2 separate regions of the Homo sapiens genome follow, and region 2 is linked to region 1. The links are contacts of gene promoters, found by promoter capture Hi-C in blood cells and fetal thymus (Javierre and others, 2016). All regions are on one chromosome and are shown on one strand. Each heading gives the region's core, a stretch centred on a gene start or on the middle of the fragment in contact. The rest is flanking DNA. Distances are from core to core; before and after follow the strand shown. Region 1 holds the start of PADI2 (peptidyl arginine deiminase 2). Region 2 overlaps PADI2 (peptidyl arginine deiminase 2).

Evidence for each region. Contacts are between HindIII fragments. The CHiCAGO score rates a contact against its expected background, and 5 or more counts as called.
Region 2: a contact is called between a fragment that was not itself captured here and the fragment with the promoter of PADI2 in region 1, in 4 of 17 cell types (neutrophils, M0 macrophages, M1 macrophages and 1 more). The highest score is 14.5, in neutrophils.

What each region holds. Positions count from the first base shown.
Region 1 is chr1:17,118,071-17,120,919 of GRCh38, reverse strand. It overlaps PADI2 (peptidyl arginine deiminase 2), which reads left to right and starts at 1,469. Exons shown (of 16, transcript NM_007365.3): 1 at 1,469-1,640. The coding sequence starts at 1,549. RefSeq lists an enhancer at 344-878 and a silencer at 1,450-1,659. The HindIII fragment of the contact is 8,283 bases long and covers 1-2,849 here.
Region 2 is chr1:17,075,446-17,078,294 of GRCh38, reverse strand. It overlaps PADI2 (peptidyl arginine deiminase 2), which reads left to right. Exons shown (of 16, transcript NM_007365.3): 12 at 2,472-2,616. Among named protein-coding and RNA genes, the nearest start is that of SDHB, 23 kb to the right of the region's middle. The HindIII fragment of the contact is 7,913 bases long and covers 1-2,849 here.

The sequences.
Region 1 (2,849 bases), core at 220-2,719:
AATCCCAGCTACTTGGGAGGCTGAGGCAGGAGAATCAATTAAACCTGGGAGGCGGAGGTTGCAATGAGCTGAGATGGCGCCATTGTACTCCAGCCTGGGTAACAAGAGGAAAACTCTGTCTCAAAAAAAAAAAAAAAAAACAGTTACTGGCCTCTCCCTGGGTCTGTGAGCTGTGCCTTTGGGGGACAAATGACCTCCTGGCTAAAACTCGGGCCTTCCCTCTTCCCCACTCACATTCCTCCCAAATCCCTGCCACTCAGAAGCAGCTGGGCTCTTCACCACCTCCTAATTTGGGCCGCCTCAGGGAGAAGGTTGGAGTCCAAGGGCTGGGTATATCAGCACTGGGCACTTGTGGGCCTCACCCCTCTTGTCTGGGGGCACCCGTTCCTGGAGCTCCATCTTCCATCAGCTCTAACTCCTTCCCAAACACACATCCCCTCCGCCCCACTCCTTCCCTCCCACGGCCTCTGCCCACCCCCCCTCAGTTTCTGTCCTCACCTACCAAAGACCACTTCCTCACACAGGGCTGATGTATGTGTCTGAACAGCACTCCCACTGGGTCCCAGGGGAAGGGCTGGGACATGGGAGGGGCTGGCCGAGGCCCACACTGATTGTCATCCTACATCTCAGCCTCTGTGAGACACACGATGACCTCTGGGTGGCACCCCCCTTCCCTTGGTGGCCCAGGCCAGAACCGGGGCCCTAATCCTTACCCCTCTCCTCTCCCTCCACCCACACATCCTATCAGTCACCAGGTGCCACCAAAATCCCAGTCCCTAAGCAGTGGCCGGGTCAGTCCCCACCTCTCCAGCTCTGGCCACAGCCAGGGGCTTCCTTGCCCCTCCCCAGCCCAGAATGACCCATTTCACGAGCACACCCGACCACGGCTCGCGGAGACAACCACTCCAGGCTCCCATCTCCCACCCTCCAATGCCTTGGCTTGGCGTCCTGGTCTCCCTCAGCTGCCGGGTTCCCCATCCCCACCGCTTCCCGTTTTCTCTATGGTGAGGTTCATCTGACTGTTGGGGGATGGGGGTACCGGGCTGCACCCGGCTTTGCACAGGCAGCTCCCTCTCCTCGCCTTTAATTTGCAAACGCCTCCTTTAAGAAGGTTCCAGGATCGTCTTCTCTGGGAAGGCTTCCTGGCCCCCAGGCTGGGTTAGGGCACCCTCTTTGTGTTCCCACATTTGCATTTTCAGCCCCACTGGGCTGGGGCGTCCGGAGGGGAGCTAGGGCCCTCCAACACCTGGGCGCCCACCGAAGGTTTGTCGAATGAAAGAATGACAATCCAACCATGGAAAGCACAAAACTGGTCCCTGATGACTTCGCCACGACCTCAGCGGGGCGGGACGAGTTAGGGGCGGGACCACGCTTGACGGACAGGCCCGCAGCCCACTGCGAGAGGACTGGGGCGGGCCGCCCCGCCCACCGGCCGCTGGATAAGGCTGCGCGCGGGGCCGTGGGGCGCAGGCTGCTGGAGAAGGCGCACCTGCTGCAGGTGCTCCCGGCCGCCCCGGACCAGCGAGCGCGGGCACTGCGGCGGGGAGGATGCTGCGCGAGCGGACCGTGCGGCTGCAGTACGGGAGCCGCGTGGAGGCGGTGTACGTGCTGGGCACCTACCTCTGGACCGATGTCTACAGGTGAGCCGGCCCACCGTGATGCCCGGGCCGAGATCTCGAGCCCAGAAATCCTGAGACGCGCTCAGACTCGGGGACGTGGACAGCCTTTGTCCAGCCCGAGTTGTCCCTCATCCCGAGCCCCCGAGCCCAGAAATCCTAAGAATCTCATCCAGAAACCTGACAACCCCCGAACCTTGTGTCCACCTTCCAGAAACCCTGAGACTCTCCCAGACCCCCTAACACAGCCTCAGCCCCAGCTCCCTCACAGACCCTCCCTTTCACCCGTAACCCTCCGTCTGGCCCTCTCCAGTTCTCCTCCCGGGGGACCTCACACCCCTTCAGCTTCCCTGCCGTCCTCTCCCCTTTCACTTCCCCTCCGCACCTCACTTCCCCTCGGACCCACCTCAACCCAGCCCCTCTCCTGCTTCCCACTCCCAGTTCAGCGGAGCTTCCGCGGAGACTTGCCGGGGACTGGGGCAGGACCCGAAGGGAGCTGCCCTGAGGCTGAATCCGGCCCTGGAGGTTACTCAGGCTCCGATTTCGCCCTGTGGGGGCTGCTGGTGGTTGCTTGTCCCCAGGCACTGGCCCTGAGCTCCGTGTCCCCAGATACCTTCCCCTGACTTCATTCTGAGACCACAGAGGGACAATATTCTACCCAGCTGACGACGGGGACTTGGGGTGTATAGCGGGGTACTTTGTTGGAAAAGGATCCTGATTCAGAGTTCTGCTCCCTCCCCTTCTCTCTGTCCAAGAACTTGGTAGAGTGCGGGATGTCCGAGACAGCTGAAGGTAGGGTAGGGCCCTACCACTCCCCCCGCAATCCCAGAAAGCAGCCAAGTCCAATGATCTGTCTCCCTGAGTAATGGGACGGGGCCTTGGAAAGGTGTGGCTGGTGTGAATGAAAGGGTGGGGTTATGCTGGGGTTTGATCTGCCCCCTCTATTCCAAGCATTTAAAACCTCCCCATTGCTAGGGTTGGAGGGGTCAGTGCTGGGGGCAGGGAGCATGCAGGACTCTGAGGTGGGACCCTGTGCTGACACCGGATGAGTCCCCTATCCTCTCTGCCTCAAGCTGAACTCACACGGAGGCACCATCGTGGTTTATGGCTCTCAAATCATCCTGACACCTGGAGCACCCTGCCTCTCCCAGGCCCCCACCAACCCATCATGTGTCTCCCCACACAGCCCTGGCAGCCCTCCCACCTGCCCAACCAGTCTCCTGCCACCGCTGC
Region 2 (2,849 bases), core at 184-2,683, 43 kb after region 1:
TACTAAAAATACAAAATTAGCCGGGCGTGGTGGCACATGCCTGTAATCCCAGCTACTCAAGAGGCTGAGGCAGAAGAATCGCTTGAACTCAGGAGGCAGAGGTTGCAGTGAGCCGAGATCGCGCCATTGCACTCCAGCCTGGGCAACAAGAGTGAAACTGCGTCTCAAAAAACAAAATAAAATAAAATAAAATATTAAATAAATCAGCTGGGGAAGGGATGGAGGAGTCCAGAGAAGGAAAACTGACAGGTATGAGTGGGAGCGTACCAATGAATCCTCAGGGCTACCATACTTAAAAGAGGTATGAGCAGACGTGGTCCTGCCCCAGAAATGTGAGTCCCTGGCTCCCTGGCCTGTCCATGATTCTCCTCACTCCCTGCCCAGTTGACCCACCAGCCAGTGAAAAGACAGATTCTTCCTTGTCAGGGCAGTCGCTGGGGAAAGAGTGAATACCTTAGGTTCTCACGTCACAAAAGGGCTGCCAGGAGCCTGCACAGATGGGGTCAGCCAGGATTTGGCCGCCAGTTTCCTCCGAGCCACATGGGATGCTCAGCCTTCTGCGGGGAGGCCACTGGCACAGCCAGCGACTGTTTGCCCACTTTTGCCTCCTTCTCCCTCCACTCAGTGGCCACTCATTCACTCAGCAACCATTTCCTGAGCACCAGCCAAGTGCCAGGCCCTGTGTCAGGCACAGGGTCCCAAACAGGAAGCCCAGCCCCTGCCTTCAAGGAGATAGCAGAGGTCTCAGGCATGCAAATAGACCCTGATGAAATGGAGGGACTTGCAACGATAGAAAGAATAACAGGGAGTCAGGTCAGCCCAGGGAGTGGCCCTGAACCCCCTCGAGGAGCTCAGGGGCGGCCCTTAAAGACAAATATTTATTGAGAAACTACTCTGTGCCAGGCACTATTCTAGGCTCTGGGGATACAGCGGTGACCAGAACAGATGAAGTCCCAGCTCTCCGGGAGTTTATAGTTGGGTAAGGGCAGTACAGAAAATAAACATGGAATCAAGTAAATCAATTAGATAATTCTGAATGCTGATACATGCAATGGAGAAGATAAAACAGGGTGACATGATAAAACATTCCTGGGGACAGGGGTGCCTTAGCTGTTGTTTTTTTGAAGATGTGACTAGAGTTGAGGCTTGGATGTTAAGAAGTAGGCAGCCATCAGGAGATTGTAAAGGAAGCGCATTCCATACAGAAGGAACAGCAAAGGGAAAAGCCCCAAGGGATAGCAAGTGTAGCAGGTGGCTGGAGCAGACAGAACCGGGGGAAGGGAGGGAAGCGAGGGAGGAGGGCTGGCCAGGAGCCAGATCAGAAAGGAATTTGTTGGCCACCCTAAGGAGCTAGGGTTATCTTCGGAGGATAATGGAGAGATTGCAGACCTTGGGGGGTCTAGAAATGAGGAAGGGCTGGCCGGGAGCGGTGGCTCACACCTGTAATCCCAGCACTTTGGAAAGCTGAGGTGGGCAGATCACGAAGTCAAGAGATCGAGACCATCCTGGCCGACATGGTAAAACCCCATCTCTACTAAAAATGCAAAAAAATTAGCTGGGCGGGGTGGTGGGCACCTGTAGTCCCAGCTACTTGGGAGGCTGAGGAAGGAGGATCGCTTGAACCAGGGAGGGAGATATTGCAGTGAGCTGAGATCATGCCACTGCACTGGTGACAGAGTTAGACTCTGTCTCAAAATACAAAAAACAAACACACACAAAAAAAGAAATGAGGAAGGGCTTCCTGGAGGAGGTTTCTCTTGAACTGATTAAAGATTAAAGTAAGTCCAGGCACAGTGGCTCACACCTGTAATCCCAGCAGTTTGGGAGGCCAAGGAGGGCGGATCATGAGGTCAGGAGTTCAAGACCAGCTTGGCCAACATGGTGAAACCCTGTCTCTACTAAAAATGCAAAAATTAGCCGGGCGTGGTGGCACACGCCTGTAGTCCCAGCTACTCAGGATGCTGAGGCAGGAGAATTGCTTGAACCCGGGAGGCAGAGGTTGCAGTGAACCAAGATCATGCCACTCTACTCCAGCCTGGGCAACATAGCAAGACTCCATCTCGGGGGAAAAAAAAAAGATTAAAGTAAGTAGAAGTTAATGTAGCAAAGAGGCACATGGATGAGGGCAGATTTTGGAGCCCTCCTGTGCCCTAGCCCCGTCCAGCAGGCCAGGTGGGACTCCCGCACACAAAAGGTAGCCTCTGCACACTCACTGGCACCCTCAAGGGCTGAAGCCTGGGCTCCCTGCCCTTCACACAGGCCGCAGCTGCAACTCACACCTACTCTTTCCCCTGGGACTCAAACGCCTTACTGCCTGCGCCAGGGTCTCTTAACCCAACCTAGTCTCCTTCCTGGGACTTCTCTGCTGATGTCACTCTGGGTCCGAGGTGGGTCCCAGAGACCAAACTCCTCTTGCAGGCCCTCTGGTGCGGTGGGTAATTTGCTGAAACTCCTCTTCCTCCCTTCTCCAGGTCTGGTGGTCGGAGGATGACCAAGGTGGTGCGTGACTTCCTGAAGGCCCAGCAGGTGCAGGCGCCCGTGGAGCTCTACTCAGACTGGCTGACTGTGGGCCACGTGGATGAGTTCATGTCCTTTGTCCCCATCCCCGGCACAAAGGTAAGCTAGCCTCCCGAGGCTGGAGTGAATGGGGTAGCAGCAAACCAATATATTACCCGCCCCTGCCAGCAGAGGGCAAGAGCTAGAGGAACTCGACAGCATAAAGGAAGGAGGAAGTAGGCTGAAGCTGGTTTGCATGTTGTTGCTGTGGCAGGTAAAATTTTAACCCCATAAATCCAAAATGTTAGCATTGCAACACATAATCAGCCTAAAAATTATTAACGAGAGATTTA